Linked DNA regions of Homo sapiens: region 1 is linked to region 2. Evidence: promoter capture Hi-C in human tissues and cell types (Jung and others, 2019). All regions are on one chromosome and are shown on one strand. The core of a region is centred on a gene start or on the middle of the fragment in contact, and the rest is flanking DNA. Distances in the headings are between cores, read along the strand shown.

What was found. The method cuts DNA at HindIII sites, captures the fragments that hold promoters and counts their contacts. A contact is called where the count stands out against the background at its distance.
Region 1: a fragment that was not itself captured here is called in contact with the fragment with the promoter of SYT13 in region 2 in 2 of the 25 tissues and cell types used here (dorsolateral prefrontal cortex and liver).

What each region holds. Positions count from the first base shown.
Region 1 is chr11:45,328,421-45,333,740 of GRCh38, reverse strand. No RefSeq gene overlaps it. Among named protein-coding and RNA genes, the nearest start is that of LINC02696, 24 kb to the left of the region's middle. The HindIII fragment of the contact is 4,072 bases long and covers 724-4,795 here.
Region 2 is chr11:45,284,979-45,290,341 of GRCh38, reverse strand. It overlaps SYT13 (synaptotagmin 13), which reads left to right and starts at 4,001. Exons shown (of 6, transcript NM_020826.3): 1 at 4,001-4,317. The coding sequence starts at 4,135. RefSeq lists an enhancer at 3,820-4,606. The HindIII fragment of the contact is 8,257 bases long and covers 1-5,363 here.

The DNA.
Region 1 (5,320 bases), core at 1,510-4,009, 45 kb before region 2:
GTGTGTAGATGTGACTCATGGAATCGAGGCTGCCATCTTGTGATCAGGAGAGAAGACCAAGAGAACAGCGGGAATGTTATGGTTATGTGAGACAGCTAAATATCTTTATTAGTGAAGTCGGAGGTCAGCAAACTTGTTCTTTCAAATGGACACATAGTAAATATTTTCAGCTTTCCAAGCCGCAACCACTCAACTCTGACATTGTCACGGGAAAAGAGCCCTAGATAAGTACATAAACAAATGAGTGTGGCTGGGTTCCAACAGAACTTTATTTATAGAAACTGAAATTTGAATTTCATATAATGTTCATGTGTCACAAAATATTATTTATTCTTTTGATTTTTTTCAACAATTTAAATTGTAGAAATCATTCTTAGCCCACAGGCGGCACAAAAACAGATTTGGCAAGTGGGTTGTCGTTTGCCGACCCTGGATCTACTCACCGTCAGTTGTGTTTTCTGTTTCCTGAAGCTGAGTGCCTTCTGGATGATGCTGTCATTTAACCTTCTGTTTCCCAGATGACAACGCTGAGGTCCAGAGAGGCGACAGACAGAACGTTCCCAGGGTCCCAGAGCTTGTTAGTGTCAGAGCTCATAAATCTAAATCTCAAAGCTCCTAACATCAAGTCGAGGATGTTTCCCCGGTACATAAACCCGTTTCCTACTCATTTACACACATTTCTTGCTTTTTCTTCTAGGCTGTAACATTTTCCTTTGTGTCTGTGACTGCGTTTCATTCATACAAAGTGTATAAAGAGCCAAGAGGCTACCAACCTTGATTAAGGACCTACCACATTCCAGACACTTTACATTACTTAATCCTACAACAGTTGTGAGGTAGATGTTATTATGCCCACTGCACAGATGGGGAAATAGAGGCTCCGAGAGGACAGAACCACGCCCAACTTCACCCAGGGAGTAGGTGGTGGTCCCAGTCCCACCAGTGCCCTTCCTGCTGAATCTAGCTGTCTCCCACGCTTCACTGCTCGACTCTGGGTGTACCCTAATGAAGAAGACATGGCCCCTTTTCTCTGGCCACTGAATATTTTCCTTTCTGAAGTGGTTCTTGGCAGGGCTAATATATTAGAAACAGTGGCGGGAGAGTGGGGGCGGCGGTGGGGATGATGAAGTGCCATTCACCATCTCGTCCACTAGAGGGCAGAAAGAGGCCATGTTTCTGTAACAATTCTGCACCTTAACTCCCTGGTTCCGTTGAATTCATTCACAGGTTCATGGGAAACTTAGGGGAAATAATATGTTTCAGCCTTTTATTCCAACCTCCTCATTTTTCTGATGAGAAAAACGGAATCCCACAAGTGTCGTGTTGTTTACCCAGGGTCAGACATCGTGACTCATTAAATCAACAAATGTTAATTGAATGTTCATTGAGTCAATCCATGTCACTGCACAAACACTCATGGGTGATGGAGACACAAGAGTGGCAGGAGAGACGTGGCCCCTTCCCACACCAAGGCTGCAGGCGAGTGGAGCACAGGGGCAATGAGAAGTGATCAGATCAACACAATTATCAGCAATTGTGGGGAGGGGGTTAAGAGATGGAGGGACAGGAACAAGATCTGTGTGGAGGTGGCATTTCCCCCGAGCCTGAAGATGAAGAGCAGCCAGGCTTTCAAGGAGCTGGGGGCCAAGAATTCCAGGAATAAGGAACCACAAGAGGGAGACTTCTTGGCTTGTGCTAGAGCCTGGCAGACAAGGACCAGCAGCATGACTTAGTTGAGTCAGGGAAGGAAGGGGGTGTAAGAGACCTAATGTCATGATAATCATTAGCACTGAAGCTTCACTATGTACCGAGCTCTACGGAGCCGGTGCATTTGCTCATGCATCCTCCCCACAAATCTCTGCTTTGCAAACACAATTACTCCCATTTTATAGCCTCAGAGGGGTTGAGCCACTTGGCCAAGGCCATGCAGCCTGAAAGTGGTCTAGCTGGGACTTGAACCTGCACCTGTCTGACTCCAGCACCCAAACTCATCCTCACTATTCCAATTAAAGGCAGAGCTAATACTAAACCCCTGAGATCCCGTCTCGTGGCCAGGACTCTCTCCATAACCCTGTCCTTCTCTTGCCTTTGAGGAAAGCATACTTCACTGTCAGTTCTTCAGCCTGGGTGGCAGGGATGAAGGCAGAAGTTAAATAATAAAGAGGAAAAGGTTTTTTTCTAGAAATCAATGACTAAAGACTGGGAAGAGAATTCCTAAAACTCAAGTCAAGGACTGTCTCCTTTCGAAAACGGTGTGTACGAGAACATACGGCTCTCTGACCATCCACACAGACTCATGAGAAGGAGAGGAAGGACACCTCTCACTTCTGAACACTGCCTTGAAGCTTAGAGAAGTCAGATGTGACTCCCGAAGCTGAGCCGACATTCCAGGGCTCCTGGGAAATGTATCAAGTTGTGTGCAGTAGCATGGCTGCCCCACTATCTTCTGACTTTTGATGCATGGCCTGCCATTAGGGCACAGGCCTGTAGTGTTATCACTGGGGGCTGGGCTTTGGGGTACATGGAGAGCTTCAGGAAGAGGGAGGATGAAGAGTAAATCTGGGTTTCCTTCCTTAGCCTTGGTTCCCAGCCTCCCTCCTGCCTCTAGACCCTGGCATCCCCATGCTGGGTGTCAGTTTATCTCTTCTGTCCTGTTTCCTTCACCTGTCCAAACCCTTCTAGTCATCAAGGCATACCACCCCCAACCCCAGTCTCAAAGCTGCCACCAACATTCTCTCCAGGCCTCACAGTGTCTCTCTGCCCTCCACCCATTTGCTCATATAGTCTGGAGATAACAGAGGTCAGCATTTGTTCAGCAGAGGGAAAACACAGGCTTTGGCATTAGAAAACCCAGGCTTGAGTCCCTGGCCTCATGTTGGCAGGCTGCATGATCTTGGATGAATGACCACACCTCCCTGAGCTACCTCAGCCAGGCTCAGGGCTAGCTCAGGGTAGCAATGGTGAACAGTCCCTCCCTCAAAGAGCTACTGTTTTAATCTTCCCATCTGGAAGATGGACGTTGTAACAACCACTTCTCTGGCTGGTTGTGAGCATGAAGAAAAGAGGCATACAAGGAACTACTTTTGAATTTCAATGTTCCATCCCAGTTTTATTTTCCCCAACAGTTACTTCACGGTTGCCTTGTTTTTCTCATCTGCAAAATGGGGACAAATGCCTACTTATTTTAGGCACATTCCAGCAGTCTAGCAGAGCAGGAGGCATCACAGACTGTGGCTGGGAGGATGGTCTCTGGGGTCATTCTAACTGGTTTTTCATCTTGGTGCTGCTTTTTCCTGCCTTTGGGACCCTGGACAAGTTATCCAAGCCCTGTGCCTCAGTTTCCTAATCTATAAAATGGAAGATGACTGTGTCTATTTTCCAGAGTTGATGGGAGACTCCTCTATTTCCTTTGGGTGGTGTAACAAATTACTATAAACTGGGTGGCTTATAACAACAGAAAATTACACACTCACAGTTCTAGAGGCTAGAAGTCTGAAATCAGGGTGTCGGCAGGGCTGCACTCCCTCCAAACGCTATAGAGAAAATCTAGGCTGGGTATGGTGGCTCACACCTGTGATCCCAGCACATTGGGAGGCCAAGGCAGGTGGATCACCTGAGGTCAGGGGTTCGAGACCAGCCTGACCAATATGGGGAAACCCCATCCCTACTAAAAATACAAAAATTAACTGGGCGTGGTGATGTGCATCTGTAGTCCCAGCTACTTGGGATGCTGAGACAGCAGAATTGCTTGAACCCGGGAGGCGGAGGTTGCAGTGAGCTGAGATCGTGCCGCTGCATTCCAGCGTGGGCGACACGCTGTCTCGAAAAAGCAGCGAGACTCTGTCTTGAAAAAGCAGCGAGACTCTGTCTCGAAAAAAAAAAAAGAAAAAGAAAAAAGAAAATCTATTCTTGCCTTTTTGTGTTCCTTGGGTTGTGGCTGCAGAACTCCAATCTTTGTCCCTCTGTCTCTTCTTCATGGATCCCTTATAAAGGCACTTGTCATTGGATAGAGAGCCCACCTAGATAACACAGTATGACTCCAACCCAGGATTCTTAATTATATCACCAAAGATCAATTTTCCAAATATGATCATATTCACAGGTTCTGGGCATTAGGACACAGATGTATCTTTTGGGGGCCACCATTCTACCCACTCTAGAAGCCAAATAATGAATCCATGTAATGGGGTCAGCACAGAGCCAGGCACACTGGAAGTGCTCCATTGATAAGAGCTACTACTGTTGCACATCTAGAAATTGTGCCTGAAGTTTAACTCTAGAAATTGGACCCACACAAGAACAGAAACCCAAGTGTAGAAAGATTGGGTCCTTCTGTCCCTGTAGGCCTCTAGGGCTGTTGGCCCAACTTGTAGCACTGCATTTCCCAACTTAACCAGACTGATTTCAGCTTTGAGATTCCTCAAATTCTCTCTCTGTTCTGAACAGGCTTTTGTTGAAGCCCCTTATTATTGCAAAGCTTGCGTTTTGCTCCATTAAAAGCAGTCTGAAGGTGACAGCCAGTCAGAGGTTGAGAACAGGGTACCTGGCAGGAGGGAGAGAAATGTCCAGCCAAGGCAGTCCTGATGGCTCAGCCTCATGTTGGATCTCAGGCTGAAGTCAGTTTGGTTGCATCAGGGAATGCCAAGCATCAGGTTTAAGGGTCAAGGCAGGTTTTCACTGAAAAGAAAGGAGACTGCTTTCATCCTGAGTGAGAGTCAGTTCTGTGGCCGAGCTGGATGGGGTGTGTACAGGTGTTGGGGTGACATCTGGTTGGAGAAAGGATAGGAAAAAGAATGGCCTGGGTCGAGGAGAAGGGCAAGGAGGCTGCAAAGGTGGAGAGAGACCGAGGGAGCCCAGACTTTTCTTCAGACTTTACAGCAGCTTTGTGGAAGAGAAGGACCACAGGACTGCTCAGAGCCTCAGTTTTCTCAGCTGTGAAATGGGATCACAGTGGGACCTGTGCCTTCAGGACTTAGCACATTGCAAGTACACAGGCAGTGCTAAGTGATGCCTATTGATACTCCCACCAGCATCAAAAGGAACAAAAGGGCAGCCAAGGCCCTTTAGGGGTGACTGGTTCAGATCTAGGCAGCAGAAGGACCTGATCTCCAAGCTTGACCTGCCTGTGTCTGGGCTGGAAATGAAGCCAGAGGGGCAAACTTACAGTGTGCGGAAAGCAGAGAGGGGAGGTCTTTGTGCTGATGGAGAGTTGGTTCTTAAACCCCACAAAGCGTGTTCTGTTCCACAGTTTACGGGCTGGCAGTATAATTAGAAAGGTAATATTTTATAACTGTTTTGTGACCCTATTTTTACCCCCAGA
Region 2 (5,363 bases), core at 2,752-5,251:
GGGAAATATTCAGGAATTTGTTGGTAGCTGGAAATCGACCATGGTGGGGTTACTTTATACCAGAAAAATCAACAAATGCTAAAAATCCTATTTTTTTTTTCTGGAGAGCTGATTGGTCAGTCCACCGCTGCTCCATCCCCACTGTGCTGTTCCATCACAGGACCGCTGAACATGCTGTTGTTCTGCCTGGCACGCTCTCCCCTCTTTCTTTGCTGAGTTAACTCTATTCTTCAACACCTCAGCTCAATTCTTACTTCTTCCAGGAAGCCTTCTGTGATATTTCTGAACAAGTCAAGTCTCTAACATTCACCTTTTCTTCTTAGCCTGTATCACATTTGTAATTTGACACGTGTGATGAATGATGAGCACCCGTCTTCCCCATGGGAATATAAACTTTCCATGGCAAGAGAGACCATGCCTGGTTTTACTCACTCTCTTTGCTGTATCACCTGGCACAGTACCTGGTCATAGAAACTCACATCTGCTGAATGAGTGAATAAATTAGAGAAATATACACTAGACAAGGCTCTGGCTTCTGTGGCAGGAGTACTTTTGCTCACACATCTCCACATTCTCCTCTGCATTTCCCAGCCTCTCTTGCTGTTACATTTGTCCTGTTACCAAATTCTGGCCAGTGGAATGGGGTGCTCTGTGTCCTCCATTTCCAGCCATGTCCTCTAGAATGCCACAAGTAGTCCTCAAGTCTCTTTCTCTTCCCTGCATGGCTGGAAGTGAAGGAATCACAAGACAGAAGCAGCCCAGATTCCTGAGTCACCAACTGGAGAAGAGCTGACCAAATGAGTCATCTGACCCTCCTTCAATTGAGAAAGGAGGGAGATGTACGCTTTTATTGAGTTCATCTCTGACATTTTGAGTTATTTGTTACTGCAGCAGAATCCAGTTTACCCTGACCTAAAACACCATCCCAGTTGTCATTAACTCCTACTCTTTGGGCAAGCCATGATGTCTCTGAATCTCCGTTTCCTTATTGGTAAAATAAAAGGATTCCACAGGTGATATCTGAAATCGTTGCAATGTTAAAATTCAGTTATTCCGCTGGTATATTTTCCTCCCTCCTGCATAGCACCATATGTAGACACCACAAATGTTTGCTAAATAAGAGAACCTCCTATATTTGAAATCCTTTTCTCCAGATAAAAGCATTTTAGTACCTTAGAAGTTCAGAGTGATTATTCAGAATATTTAAACATCTAACATGTACAATATTGATCAAAATAACAATGGGAACATTTCATCAAGAGGCTGGGGAACCTTCAAAGATCCATCCCTCAGCCTCGTAGATGCCTCCTAAGCATCTTGCTCTGTCTGCTCTTAGAAATGTGGCCTCAGCACTTCCAATTATTTGTGGGTCCCAGCCTCAGACTGTCTTAACTGATCCACTCAGCTGACTCAGTTAACTGCCTTTCCCAATAGGCATACTCTCATTTTTCAAAGGAACCTAGTGATGCCTTTTTTCTGTGGGTTGTCATTAAAGGCCACTGTCTGCATATCAGTAGCCAAGAAGCAAACATCGTATCTTTGATGAGATATATGAGGGTGACTGGTTGGGTAGCAAAGGTAGCCCAGAGTCCTGATCACTCAACTGGGCTTTGGATCCCCTGGGGTCTATTCCTAGCTCTGCCATAGGTTCACTGTGTGTGAAAGAGGCACAAGGCAAGCTCTTCTTCTTGGGCTGGGGTCCCTCTTCCTGTTATAAATGAAGGCCACTGCAGCTGCTGTCATCCCAGTAACCATAGTAACAATGGATCATGTGACAGGTGTCTGATTCCCCATCAGACATTTTCTGATATTAAGTGTTCTTCATCCTTCCCCTTTAACCCCACCCCAGATCCTGTTATGAGTAGTGGCATTGATGGTCTCCCAGGGCAGCCGTTTGAGCATGGGAGACCTGGAGCTGACAGCATTAATTAAACCTCTATTTCCACAAAACATTTTGCATTGCCAGGCCCGGAGCCAAGAAAACCTCCCAGGGCAGCTCTTATGTGAGAGATTGCTAAGGCTGTCACCAGGGACTGCAGTGCTTCAGCTCTACAGTTTGCAGCAAATGGGGATCAGTAGGAAAATGTGCCTGGCATACAGCAGGCACACAATAAATACTTGTGGAAAAGTCAGTTTACTAAAATGGAGCTCATATCACAAATGGGATTCCTTCAAAACACTGGAAATTCTGCATAAGATGATCATATGAATTATTCCACGGTTACTGAGTGCCTGCTATATGCACCCATGGGTGATAACATGGAGACTCTAAAGATGTTAGCTTGTTGAAGGAATCCCAAGTCCATGGGGTGGCTGAGGCTCAGGGGCACATTGGGAAGTGTGTAGAGAGGAGTCTGGAAGGCTTAGCAGGGACCACATCACAAAGGGATTTGGATAAAGGTTGAGTCTCTTGGGTTTATTCTTGGAGAACCTTTGAGAGCTGTGAGTGACATGATCAGCTTTGTATTTTGGACACCTCCTTTTGATGTCACTGAAGGAAAGAACTAGAGGGAGACTATTGTTTTGATCAAATAGTGTTCTAGAATTTCTGAACCCAGGCCTTAAGACAACTGGCAGCTTCTGCTTCATTCCTCTTAGAATCCAGCCAGCATGCTGTGAGCAGCTCCAGCACCATGGAGAGGTGACATAGAGGACAACCAAAATGCACCAGCTGACAGCCCCATTGTGATCCCAGTGGCAGCCAGCACCTACTGCTCACCACGTGAGTTCACCATTGCACCATCTGCAATGGTGTCTGGAGAGCTGATGTCCCAGTCCAGCTGAACCCCTAGATGACTGCAGTCCCAGAAGACAACATGTTGAGCAGGAAAACCACCCAACTGAGCCCAGCCAACCCATGAAATCATGACAAGTAACACAATAACTGGTCTAAGCCAGTAAGTCATCGGTGGGTTTTTATGCAAGTGTAGATAGCTGAAAAACTGGAGGACGGGTGGGTTCCCAGGTGGTGGTCACAGCTACAGCTCAGAGGAAAAGGTCTGGCTGGAGAGGCTATAGATTTAGGAGACATTGGCTCATAGAAATGTGAAAGCTCTGTTGTGGATGAAATCACCTACATCCCTTTTCACACATGCCCAGCACACCTAGAGCACAGCCAACCCACAGCAAATATCTGCTGAATTAAATTCAACACTCCATATAATGAAGAACACTAAAAAGCCACTGTTTTCTTGAGCTAAGACAGTCCTCATGCCCGGAATTCTAATTTCCCCTTGTTCTAAGCATAGTTTTATGCTCACCCTCTCTGAATCAAGTGTGTACTCCTAGCTGCTGCATTTTATCTTCTTTATCCTCCTAAGACAAGTCCGTTTGAGTGTGGACTTGGAATCTGCAAACATAAGCTTGGGTTCAGGGTGATGATTTTTCTACCTGTGCACCTCTCTTCTGAGCCTCGGCTTCCTCAACTATATATAAAGGTGCGAATACCTGCTGATTAGGTAATAAAGGTGAACTCTTGGGCAACCCTTAAGGGGATGCAGCTGTATTGTCCATCTTCAGCAGGACACAGGTACAGCCTCAACCCAAACATCCCATCTGTTCCCTCTACCTGTGGCCTGTTCCTCTTCCCTGTAAGAACCATCTCCCAGGTTGGGGAGCTGGGAAATCTCCAGCTTTGTGTTTGAAAAAGCTCCCGGAAGACCCAATTTTACAGCCAGCTTGGCCAGCTGCTGGGGTAGAAGGGTGAGCAAGGAGCTAGTAGTCTGGGAAAGTGACTCCTAGAGTCGCAGATCTGGTTGGAGCCCAGGTTTGTCCTCTAACACAGTGTGACCTCCGCAAGCTCCAGCACTTCTTGGGCCCAGTTGTCCCCTGTTGTACACAAAGCATTAAGAATGGCCTGAAACAACCCCAAGGCTCCTTCCACCTGGAAGGCTCCGGCTCCTGTTGGGGTGGGGGTCCGGTCACGTGTTGGCGGGGAGGGGGTTGCCGGTTGACGTGGCTGCGGGTCCAGCCTCCTCTGACGTCCTCGCAGCCGTCCTCCCTCCCTCCGTCCCCGCCCCTCTGGCGGCGGGAGAGCTGCTGGCTCGCCCGGATCCCGGGAGCTGCCTGGAGGCGGGCCCGGCCCGGGGAAGGTGAGCGGCTGCGGGACCCAGCCCCTCGCCGGGAGCGGGCACCATGGTGCTGTCGGTGCCTGTGATCGCGCTGGGCGCCACGCTGGGCACAGCCACCAGCATCCTCGCGTTGTGCGGGGTCACCTGCCTGTGTCGGCACATGCACCCCAAGAAGGGGCTGCTGCCGCGGGACCAGGACCCCGACCTGGAGAAGGCGAAGCCCAGCTTGCTCGGGTCTGCACAACAGGTGAGCGGGGGCGGCGCGCAGGCCCTTCCCGGGCAAGGCGGGGTTGCCGGGCAGCTGCAGAGGGGGAACTGGGGTGGGAGGCGGTCGTGGATCTTTGCGCGACAAAGCTTGGCGGGGAGGGGACAGCAGACGCGTTGGAGGACAGGTCAAGGAGTCAAAAAGGTAGGGGGATGGGGGAGGCTAGGGGATGGGGGAGACGAGACCTGAAGGAGAATTAGGGAGCGGCGAGCTTGTGGGGACTGAGAGAAGAATGGGGGCCAGCAGCGAGACCTAAAGGGAGGGGACAGGAAAGGGGACCTGGATAAGAATTAGGGCTGGGAAGGGTAAGAGGAGAGGGAGGCTGGGAGGGGAATCGCCAGGGTTAGGGAAGACCCTGAGAGGTACCAGAGAATGAGGAGTTTGCAGAATTGGGAAGAAGACTGGGGTCTGTGAGAGGGAGATGGGTGGTGGTTGTGGAGCCAGGGTAGGGCAAGTCCTGCCAGAGCTGAGAAGAGGTAATGCCTGCAAAGCCAGAGGGGAGGTGGCCGCGGTCCCGCAGGAGCTGGGAAGCTAGCTAGCGGGGTCTAGAGAGCTGAATCCGGGAGGAACCTGAAGGACTCTTCCCCACCCCCTAGCAGCTCTGAGCTCCAGCCAGTCAGAGGGGGTTGGTATGGCCTCCCCCAAGATGTCTCTGCAGACGTCCCTGGAGACAGGAGGGCTTTTATCCCATGCATTTGCTCATGGCCAGAGCCCCTTCGTGCAGGAAATAGCCCGTGCTCCCATTGTAAAGAGCAGCAGAAGGGGTCTGGGGAAGCAGTTTGGAAGGATTTCCCTGCATAGGCTGTGACCTCCAGGATGCATTTCCAAAGTACAGAATGCAGAATGTTCTCTGGAGAACCAGGAGGCAAAGAGTCCTGCTAGAGTGATTTGAGGAAGGATGGCCCTGGGGCAGGGGCATGACTTAAAGGACCTCCTAAAGGCCCTCTAGATCCCTTATAGACTGTATGGTTCCAGGAGTGGCACTAAAATGCTGTGACTCCATCTTCCTTTTTCCAATCAATAATTCA